Linked DNA regions of Homo sapiens: region 2 is linked to region 1. The links are contacts of gene promoters, found by promoter capture Hi-C in blood cells and fetal thymus (Javierre and others, 2016). All regions are on one chromosome and are shown on one strand. The core of a region is centred on a gene start or on the middle of the fragment in contact, and the rest is flanking DNA. Distances in the headings are between cores, read along the strand shown.

Region 1 (4,935 bases), core at 9-2,508:
AAGGCTCACCGGCGCAGGCCAGGGCAGTTTCCGGGTGCCCACGTACCTTCTTGAGCTTGGTGCTCCGTGGCAGCTGCTGCATGACCAGGGCGAAGCCCTCTGTGAGCTGCAGCTGGCCTACCCCGATGCCCTGCCAGAGTAGCACCTTCCCGTCGGTGGCCACACTCAGCACCTGGAAGCGGTGGCTGTGCCCAGGCTCGGGCAGCCACACCACCTGAGTTAACAGCATGCAGGGCCAGGATGGAGACAAGGGACACCTGCCCAGGTGTCACGCTCCACCCCTACCCTCCCTCTCTTCCAGGAAAAAAAAAAATTCTCCGGGAGGCCCCAGAACCAGGCTCACCCACCAGGGGGCAGGCCTGGAGGGTTCCCAGGGCCCTCTCCAGTCCCAGAATCCCAGCGCTGCTCACTCGGTGCCTGCAGAGGAGGCTGGGAATGGCCACAGGGCCCTGGGAGTGGCTCCTGAGGGGGGTGACTCATGCTGCGGGAGCTCCGAGAATGCAGGAGGCAGCTGTCCAACTGCCAACGCCCGGGTGACCTTCCTAGGAGAGTGGGCGCCCTCTCCCCAGCTCTGCCTCAGGGCCCACCCCGCCCGGCAGCCCCTGCCCTGACCTGGGACACAGGGTCTGTGTGGGTGTCATCCGTCAGGCCTGTGCGCCACAGCAGCGGGTCCTCAAGACGGCTCAGGTCCCACACCAACACCTCACCACTGTACAGCCCTCCTGCAGGGACAGTGGACCTGGGCAGAGGCTCAGCCCCACCCCCAGCCTGACTTCCTGGCCAAACACCCGCCCCAGCCCACCTACAGGGCCAGGGCCAGGGCCAGGCGGCAGAGCCACTTGGCTGGAAGTCATCCCCACAGAGGGAGAGTCCTAGCCCCCAGCTCCCCTGTTGTACCCCAGGGAGCTTTGCCGGACACCCCTGCCCTGCACCTGGCAGCTCCCTCCAGCGTTGCCTGCCCCCTACCACTGACGGCTTCCCAAGGGCACCTGCCTCTTCTGGCCTCTCCACAGCCCCCTGTCCTGGCCCCGACCCTGGCCCCCTTCCAGACTCCTCCCCCGAGTTCCACCCCTCAGGGCTCACTGCAGACCTTCACCTGGGCTCCAGACTGAGAGGGTCAGGGCCCGCCTTCCTGTCTCCGGGCCAAAGGGCCCATGGAAAGCTCCCTTGTGCCCTCTGCAGGGCGGGAAGCTGAGTCCTGAGAGGAGAGGAGGCGGACACAGCAGGCAGCTCACCTGCGACGTGGGAGGGCTGCGTGGGGTGGAAGGCCAGACACAGGACAGCGCTGGGGACCTCCACCACGGCCGACGGCTGCTGGGGACGCAGGTCTCGCCGGTCCAGGTTCCAGGCACACACGAAGGACTTAAGCGTGCTCCAGTCCCCATGGTCCAGCCTGTGCAGGGACAGGCTTGAGCCGGCTGTGCCCCTGGGTGGGGCTCCTATCACCCACCCCACCTCTCTCCCCACTAGCCCCGGACACACTCGCTGTGTCCTTGTCACCACCAGACACTACTCTGGGTATTGAAGTGGCCCACACTCCACTCTAGCACCCCAAGGGTGTGGCATTCTCTGGAAAATGGTCCCCAGGCACCAAGGACAGTCCATGCCATGCAGGATGGGGAAGCAGCTGGTGGGGCGGGCGAGGCAGGCAGGCCCAGGGCCTCCAGGCAGGGGGGAGGGTGATCCTGGCACTCAGCCCCACTGCCTGCTCTTCTGCCACTTGTTGTCAACCCTGCCCAGGAAGGCTTGAGAAGAGACTCCCAGGATGGCCAAGCTCTTAGAACCAGCCCTTCCCTGTGCAGCTACAGAGACAAGGCCCAAGGAGGGTCCTGGGGTGGCGAGCTGCCCCTCACCTGCCCCGCTGCCACTCACCGGCCGTAGGCACAGGCCACCACAGAGCCAGTGGAGTTCCAGGAGATGCTGGTCACATGCAGACCCTGCGCTTGGGCTGGCGGGTAGCCCAGGGTATACAGACAAGACACCTGCGGAGACGTCCCCAACCCTGAGTCCAAAGCCACCAGCAGGGGCCTCATGACTGCCTAACCAAACCCCACCTAGGCCAGGCCACCCTTAGCCCTAGAGGCCCTCAAGTCCATCAGCCAGGCCTAGAGGAAAATGTGGCACGTTCATCCCCACATCTGCCCCAGCAGAATGCTTCCAGAAGCCCAGAAGGCATGGCCTGAGAAGCAAGGCCGACCAGGCTCCCGCCCAGAGGGGTGGCTGCCCTCACAGGCACACTCCACAGTTTCCAAGCCTCAGGGGCTGCAGCAGGAAGGTGGGGATGGTTGCCCAGCAGCATAAAAGTGCCCAACGCGGCCAAGTACAAGGGGTCAAGCGAACCACCCGACGTCACGCTGTGCTACACGCACATGATTTTTTGTTGTTTGTGGTGGTTAGTTGGTTGGTTTTCTTTTTGAGACAGAGTCTCACTCTGTGGCCCAGGCTGGAGTGCAATGGTGCAGTCTCCACTCACTGCAACTGCCACCTCCTGGGTTCAAGTGATTCTCATGCCTCAGCCTCCCAAGTAGCTGGGATTACAGGCGCGTGCCACCAAACCTGGATAATTTTTATATTTTTATCAGAGACGGGGTTTCACCATGTTGCCCAGGCTAGTCTCGAACTCCTGACCTCAGGTGATCCGCCTGCCTCGGTCTCCCAAAGTGCTGAGATGACAGGCATGAGCTGCTGTGCCTGGCTGCCCACGATTTTTTGTCAAGCTCTGGCATCTTGCTTTCAGCCCTGCAGCCGGCCACAGCTGCATGTGAGGAGGCTGACGACCAGCCTAGCCAGGGGTAGGCACCAGCTGCCCAGGAAGTGGTGTGTGCCAGGAATCCAAACAGCCTCTCAGATCCTCTGACGTTTCAGATCTGTTGACCTCATGATTCTACATAAAGAAACTATCAACTGAGGGCCGGGCACGATGGCTCACGCCTGTAATCTCAGCACTTTGGGAGGCTGAGGCAGGAGGATAGCTTAAGCTCAGGAGTTCAAGACCAGTGTAGGCAAGATGGTGAAACCCCGTCTCTACCAAAAATACAAAAATTAGCTGGGCATGGGGGTCAGAGCCTGTAATCCCAGCTACTCAGGAAGTTGAGGTGGGAGGATCACTTGAACCCAGGACACAGAGGTTGCACTGCTGCTCTCCAGCCTAAGCAACAGAGCAAGACCCTGTCTCAAAAAAAAAAAAAAAAGGCCAGGCCTGGTGGCTCATGCCTGTAATCCCAGCACTTTGGGAGGCGGAGGCGGGCGGATCACAAGGTCTGGAGTTCAAGACCATCCTGGCCAACATGGTGAAACCCATCTCTACTAAAAATACAAAAAATGAGCTGGGTGTGGTAGCACGTGCCTGTGGTCCCAGCTACTCAGGAGGCTGAGGCAGCAGAATAGCTTGAACCCAGGAGGCAGAGGTTGCAGTGAGCCCAGATCACGCCATTGCACTCCAGCCTGGCGACAGAGCGAGACTCCATCTCAAAAAAAAAAAATGCATTTTGTAAAAAAATAAAAAAGAAACTATCCACTGGAAAGACTCCACACTCCACAAAGAGCTCCACAGCCACACCCCGCGCACTGCTGCAGCATGTGCAAGAGGTGCCTCTGCTGTGGAGAACAAGCTGCAGGAGACCAGGACCAGCAACTCCACTCATAGGTTTAGACCCTAGAGAAATGAAAACTCATGTCCACATGGACACCTGTACACCAATGTCCACAAGAGCATGACTCACTATAGCCAAAAAGGGGAATAGCCCAAATGTCCATTAGCTGATGAGTGGCTAAATGAATGTGGTCTGTCCATGCAACACCATGCAGCTGTAAAAAGGAACGCAGCACCAACCCAAGCCACAACACGCATGAACCTATTATTTTCAAACAAAGCTATACAATGGGCTAGGAGGTGGAAGGAAGCTTTTACAGGCCTTGTAATGTTCACTTTCTTGATCTGGATTTTGGTTCAAGGAATGTTTATACTTTGTAAAAAATCATCTCAGGAGGCTGAGGCAGGAGCATCTCTTGAGCCCATCTGAACTACAGCCTGGGCAACATAGGAAGACCCTAACTCTAAAAAAATTTTTTTGGCCAGGCGAGGTGGCTCACGCCTGTAATCACAGCACTTTGGGAGGCCAAGGCAGGCAGATCACCTGAGGTCAGGAATTCGAGACCAACCTGACCAACATGGTGAAATCCATCTCTACCAAAAATACAAAATTAGCCGGGCGTGGTGGCGGGTGCCTGTAATCCCAGCTGCTCAGGAGGCTGAGACAGGAGAATTGCTTGGACCCGGGAGGCAGAGGTTGCAGTGAGCCAAGATCATGCCACTGCACTCCATCCTGGGTGACAGAGCGAGACTCTGTCTCAAAAAAATAAAAAAAAAAGAAAAAGACAAAAGCTCCCTCATCTCAAACCCAATACTGTCTGCCCAACTGCCCATCAGCATTTACAGGGTCATGACTCTGGACTGTACTTGGAGGGCAGATGACCCAGAGCATGGCAGTGAAACCAGAGAGACTGGGGTTCAAGTTCTGGAGCTGTGTGTGTGGACCTGGATATGTCACTTAGCCTCTCTCAGCCTCATCTATAAACTGAAGATTATAATAGCACTACCTCATACAGTTTTTTTTTGTTGTTTTTTTGTCTTTTTTTGAGATGGAGTCTTGCTCTGTCACCCAGGCAGGAGTGCAGTGGCACAGTCTCAGCTCACTGCAAGCTCCGTCTCCCGGGTTAAAGTGATTCTCCTGCCTCAGCCTCCCGAGTAGCTGGAACAACAGGCGTGCACCACCACGCCTGGCTAATTTTTGTATTTTTAGTAGAGAGGAGGTTTCACTATGTTGGCCAGGCTGGTCTCGAACTGCCAACCTCAGGTGATCCACCCACCTTGGCCTCCCAAAGTGCTGGGATTACAGGCGTGAGCCACTGTGCCCAGCCTCATACAGTTGTTTT
Region 2 (6,228 bases), core at 962-3,461, 310 kb after region 1:
GGACAGGAGAATCGCTTGAACCTGGGAGGTGGAGGTTGCGGTGAGCCGAGATCGCGCCATTGCACTCCAACCTGGGCAACAAGAGCAAAACTGTCTCAAAAAAAAATAAAAAAAAAAATATATCAGCAAAACTAGAACTAGGAGAGCTTTGCTTTTTATTTTAAATCTGAATCAACTGAAAAATCAAATCTGCTTTTCACACCTTGGCTCTTCATGCCCAAGTAGCTGTCTGCTGTGGGGACTGTTCACCCTCCCCATGTCTGTTTCCTCCGTCACTGCTGCTGCACTGTAACAGCTAGGCCATCAGCAATATCAGGAGGTAGAGAGGCAGAAGGAGATTGTCTATCTGTGTAGTGTATGCTTCCAGGAGGGACACAGTGCTGATGGACCCCAAAATCCAAGCATAACTGTAGTTTAGGTCCACTCCACTGTCAAAGATTAAGATCAGAGCTACAGAAATGATCTGCGCAAATATAGATGTCATGGTCCCCTCAAAAGTCTTTTTGGTTCCAGGCCAGCGGATCTCCCCCATGGTGCTACCGAAGATGGAGGCCACAGTATCACCCACACCCACAGCCAGGACACCGGCATAGGGGACGAGGGCCCTGGCTCCTCCCAGGCTACCCTTCTGTGTGCAGGGTCTGGGGATCAGCCAGATGGGAAGAGACATGCCCAGGAGCAGGTAGATGTGTGTCAGAATGAGTGGTCCACTGTCTCGTTCATCCAGAAAAAGGGACAGGAAGCTCCGTAGAGTGTGACCCAAAGGCTTGATGCGGAAGTAGCGCACATACTCCAGGAAGATGAAGACCGCCAGGCATACAGTGGCGGCTACATAGAGCAGTGGCCGGTCAAAGATGATACCTGGGATGTAGGTGGCTACCACAATGAGGTGGAAATACTTTCGGGCGATGGTGGGGGCCTGGTGCTTCTTGGACTCGGAAGATGACCGCTTGGCATTCTGGTACAGCACCACCAGGCAGGCCAAGGTGGCCAGCAGAGACCAATAGGCTAGGAGGTAGATGCGGGTGTCTGTCTGGAAGAGAAACTGAAGAAGCCAGAGCAGGGGATTCCTGCGGATGAGCCGGTGCAGCCAGGGTAGGACCACACCAAGGCTCAGCACACAGGTCATGAGGTGGAAGAAGATGGAGGAGGCCCAGGTGCCTGAGTCCATGAAGACAAACAGAGTGCTGAAGAAAATGCCCATGAGTACCATCCCTACTACCACCACCAGCAGGAAGAAGTCCACTGGGTCCCCCTGACTTTCCACCAGTGTCAGAGAGCGCTTGATGAGCTGGTTGAGGACAAAGCTAATGCCACCCAATACCAGCAGTGCCTCACCAGGGGTGAAGCAGCGGGGCAGCAGGTACAGCAGGATCATGTTGAGATAAACGAAGATCAGAAGGACTTCCAGGACTTCGATCACCTCCCCCACGCTCAACGAGTGCTTCATGATATAAATGATAACACCTCCAGCCAAGCCCAAGATGACACAAGTGTTGGTTGGCACTGGGCGAGTGATGCCGAGCGCCAACACTGATGAGAAGAGGGCCACTGCCATGCCAGTGGCTGCCACCACAATGCCAAAACGCTCAAAGAACGGGTTCCCAGCAGTCTGGCACCGCTCCTTCATGACTAGTCCAAGCAAAGGCATGACCATGGAGGCGGGCAATAGGCCACTGTTTGCGGACATTCGGAACTGGAAGACGGCGCTTCCCTGCTGTAGCAGCCGGTCCCACTTGTATTGGACGTAGAAGGCCTGCACTGCGAGGGCCACGGCGCACCACGAGTATCGGTCCCATACGGTTGCGTGGATGCTCAGCACCACTGCAAACACTACTGCCGCCTCTGCCAGCACCGATCCACTCAGCGGAGCCCCAGGCCCCGGGGCCGGAGATGGGCACTCTCGGGTCATATCTCTAGACCTGGGGCTTCACGGAGGCCGGGGCGACTACGGACGCCCTAGACTTCGGGCCCCTCAGCCCCGTCAAGCAGAGGGAGGCACTTTCACCCGGCCAGCAACCTTCTCCCTCCGTTCTCCAGCAGCGAGGAGGGAACTCCACCGCAGGTCACTTCTGCGGCCTGGGAGCTGGCGCCCGGCCACCCCCCACAGCCTCCAACCTACGGCGTAGACGTCGCCACTCTGCAGCCTTCCTCACAGTTACAGCCGCCCCCGCTGCCGGCTCCTCACCTCTTTGGGCCTCGCCATCTTGGCACCGCCCCGCGGCAACGTCACGTGACGAAATCCCCGCCCACGCTCCGGGTCCGGGGGCGAGCGGTCACGTGGGCATGGCGTCTGGGGGCGGGGTTAGGGCGAGCGGGCGCGCGAAGATGGCGGCGGCCGCCGGCGGGCCGTGTGTGAGGTGCGGAGCGGGTCGAATGGACCGGGGTGGCTGTGAAGCGCGGTGTCAAAGCCGAGCGGAAGCGGGGCGGGAATTGGAGGCGGGATGTGGCGACAGTGGCAGGGCCAACCCCGGCTGGATGGACGGGCACCGAGACGGGAGGCGGTTACGTCCAAACGGTCCCCGCGCGCGGGGATCTGAAGAGTCTTCTTCAGGAGGGGGGCCGGCTCTTCACCCCTTCCCTCCGCGCTCGGCCTCCCATCTCCTCACCCAGGGCCCTTTGCCTTCCTCCTCTCTCACCTCCGACGCGTCTCTTGGCGCCCCACCCGCGCTTCCTTCTCCGGCCGTGACGCTCCCTCGAGCCACGGGGAGCTTTGCGGTCTCCTGGGGTACCCCCCACCCACGTCCCTGCTGCAGGCTCCCAGTGTCCTGCCCCGGCGTCGAGTGCGCCCTGCTGGCTCCCCGACCTCTCCCGCGATCTGTTCTTGTTAGGATTTTGTTTCGCGTTGAGCGGAGCCACGCTTGCGGCTTCTGTCCTCTCCGCGCCTCGTATCGTTCTTTTCTTGCACTGAATCAAGTCAGCCAGCATGTCCAAATCCTCCAAGAGATTTCAGGGATTGAACTAGGCTTTAGGGACAAGAAGATGAAATATTATATACGAAAACTACAATTCTGACAAAGTGCTTTCTAGCGTCAGACCCTGGTGGAGCGCTTCCCAGGAGTTATCTCATTCAATTCTCGCAACTCCGAGAGGCGCCTTCTATTTCACAGATGACTCAGAAGTCCGGCTCAGAGCTAGCCAAGTGATAAAGAGAGCCTTCAAGCTGAAGTCTGCGTACCTCCAGTGCTATAACCAGACCACCACGCCTCCTTCTGTCTTCCACATTGCAGCTCGAAGGTCTTCGTTCTTCCCACCACCCTCCCTCAAAGTTAAACATCCCCGTCTCTTATCCTTCCCTGTGCCAGCAGTGTTTTCCCCACTTTTTTTTTTTTTTTTTTTTTTTTTTTTTTTTGAGACGGAGTCTCGCTCTGTCGCCCAGGCTGGAGTGCAATGGCACGATCTCGGCTCACTGCAAGCTCTGTCTCCCGGGTTCATGCCATTCTCCTGCCTCAGCCTCCCAAGTAGCTGGGGATACAGGCACCCGCCACAACGCCTGGCTAATTTTTTGTATTTTCAGTAGAGACAGGGTTTCACTGTGTTAGCCAGGATGGTCTCGATCTTCTGACCTCATGATCCGCCCGCCTCGACCTCCCAAAGTGCTGGGATTACAGGCATGAGCCACCGTGCCCGGCCCTAACAATATTATTATATAACAAGATTACTTTCCAAAAATTTAACAAATCGTTTTGTATATTGAGATTTTTTGCTTTTAGAGAGCAGACAAAATGGCTATGAGGCAGTGTACAAGTTTGTATGATCAGAAAGAGCAAAATTACCTCTGTTCTCTCATTTTGCAGGAGCAGTAGAGAACTGTGGACTATTCTGCTTGGAAGGTCAGCTCTGAGAGAGCTGGTAAGTGGTGGTGTTCTTGAGTGGGTTCTCTGGGTTCTTTGTGTAGCTTTTGTTACCAAAAAAAACCTTTTTTTAAATGTAGGAAGTAAACACATTTATTTATTTAGAGACAGAGTTTCGCTCTTGTTTCCCAGGCTGGAGTGCAATGGCGTGATCTCGGCTCACCGCAACCTCCGCCTCCCAGGTTCAAGCGATTCTCCTGCCTCAGCTTCTCGAGTAGCTGGGATTACAGGCATGCACCACCACGCCCGACTAATTTTGTATTTTTAGTAGAGATGGGGTTTTTCCATTTTGGTCAGGCTGGTCTCCAACTCCCGACCTTAGGTGATCTGCCCTCCTTGGCCTCCCAAATTGCTGTGATTATAGGCGTGAGCCACCACACCTGGCCTATTTATTTATTTTGAGATGGAGTTTCACTCTTGTTACCCAGGCTGGAGTGTAACAGCATGATCCCAGCTCACTGCAACCTCCGCCTCCCGAGTTCAAGCGATTTTCCTGCCACAGCCTCCCGAGTAGCTGAGATTACAGGTGCATGCCACCACACCTGGCTAATTTTTGTATTTTTAGTGGAGACAGGGTTTCACCATGTTGGCCAGGCTGGTGTTGAACTCCTGACCTCAGGTGATCTACTTGCCTTGGCATCTCAAAGTCCTGGGATAACAGGCGTGACGGCCACTTTTTTTTTTTTTTTTTTTTTTTTTGAGGGGGGTGTCTTGCTCCCAGGCTGGAGTGTAAGTAGCTCGATCTTGGCTCACTTCAACCTCTGCCACCTGGGTTCAAGTGATTCTCCTGCCTCAGCCTCCCCAGTAGCTGGGATTAGAGGTGCCCACCACCACGCCCTGCTGATTTTTATATTTTTAGTAGAGACAGGGTTTTGCCATGTTGGCCAGGTCGGTCTTGAACTCCCGACCTCAGGTGATCTGCCTGCCTCAGCCTCCCAAAGTGCTGGGATTACAGGCATGAGCCACCACACCCGGCTACGTTTTTTTGTTGTTGTTGAGACAGAGTCTGGCTCTCGCCCAGGTTGGAGTGCAGTGGCACGATCTTGGCTCACTGCAACCTCTGTCTCCTGGGTTCAAGTGATTCCTGCCTTAGCCTCTCAAGGAGCTGGGGATTACAGATGCATGCCACCACGCCCGGCTAATTTTTGTATTTTTAGTAGAGATGGGGTTTCACCATGTTGGCCAGGCTGGTCTTGAATTCCTGGCCTCAGGTGATCTGCCCACCTCAGTCTCCCAAAGTGCTTGGATTGCAGGCATGAGCCACTGTGCCTGGTATAAACACTTTTTTTTTGTTCCTAAAACTTTATAAACGTGGTCAGATGCAGTGGCTCATGCCTGTAACCCCAGCACTTTGGAAGGCCAAGGCAGAAGGATCAATTGAGTGCACAAGCTCAAGGCCAACCCTGGCAAGATAGCAAGACCCCGTCTCTACAAAAAATTTTTTAAAAAATTAGCCAGGCATGGTGGTGCATGTCTGTAGTCCCAGCTACTTAGGAGTCCAAGGTGGGAGGATTGCTTGATCCTGGGAGGTTGAGGCTGCAGTGAACTCTAGCCTGGGAGACACATCGAGACCCCAGCTCAAAAAAGCAAAAAGCTTTATAAACATTACGCATTCCCTACTTCTTTGCTGAAATGAGACTACCTAGCCTAGCTGCTGAAGTCTTTTAAATCTACCTTTGTATTTCATTGATTCCTTTTATGAAAAGATACCTGTGTTCATTGCTTGGCTGCTGAGAGTAGGGGTGCAAATACCATTCTTCTACCTCAACCTAAGAAAGATTCTTGGCCAGGCATGGTGGCTCACGCCTGTAATCCCAGCACTTTGGGAGGCCGAGGCGGGCGGATCACCTGAGGTCAGGAGTTCGTGACCAGCCTCAACATGGAGAAACCCCGTCTCTACTAAAAATACAAAATTAGCCCGGTGTGGTGGTGCATGCCTGTAATCCCAGCTACTCGGGAGGCTGAGGCAGGAGATTCGCTTGAACCCGGAAGTGGAGGTTGCAGTGAGTCGAGATCGCGCAACTGTACTCCAGCCTGGGTGACAAAGCGAGACTCCATCTCAAAAAAAAAAAAAAAAAAAAGTCAGGCTTGGTGGCATATGCTTGTATTAGTAGTTCCAGCTACTCAGGAGGCTGTGGTGGAAAGATCGCTTAAGCTCAGGATATCAAGCCTGCAGTGAGCCATGATTGCATCACTGCACTCCAGCCTGGGTGACAGAACAGGACCCTGTCTCAAAAAACAACAAAGAAAACTTCACCACAACATCATTTATATTATTAAATAATTACAGTCAGCTTAAGTATATCAAACATTAGAGGAATGGTAAATGAATTATGATCTACCAACTTGATACAAGTATTATGCAGCAACTTGA

Evidence for each region. The method cuts DNA at HindIII sites, captures the fragments that hold promoters and counts their contacts. A CHiCAGO score of 5 or more calls a contact.
Region 2: the fragment with the promoter of DOLK here is called in contact with a fragment that was not itself captured in region 1 in 1 of 17 cell types (naive B cells); the score reaches 6.5 in naive B cells.

Annotation. Positions count from the first base shown.
Region 1 is chr9:128,635,046-128,639,980 of GRCh38, forward strand. DYNC2I2 (dynein 2 intermediate chain 2) reads right to left here. Exons shown (of 9, transcript NM_052844.4): 3 at 1,873-1,982; 4 at 1,236-1,393; 5 at 613-722; 6 at 47-214. Among named protein-coding and RNA genes, the nearest start is that of DYNC2I2, 19 kb to the right of the region's middle. RefSeq lists enhancers at 1-847, 900-1,650. The HindIII fragment of the contact is 5,285 bases long and covers 1-3,901 here.
Region 2 is chr9:128,945,392-128,951,619 of GRCh38, forward strand. It overlaps DOLK (dolichol kinase), which reads right to left and starts at 2,212. Exons shown (of 1, transcript NM_014908.4): 1 at 139-2,212. The coding sequence starts at 1,912. The coding sequence ends at 296. It overlaps NUP188 (nucleoporin 188), which reads left to right and starts at 2,308. Exons shown (of 44, transcript NM_015354.3): 1 at 2,308-2,360; 2 at 3,798-3,852. The coding sequence starts at 2,329. RefSeq lists enhancers at 972-1,534, 1,535-2,096, 1,958-2,027, 2,097-2,658, 2,378-2,427. The HindIII fragment of the contact is 6,982 bases long and covers 1-5,446 here.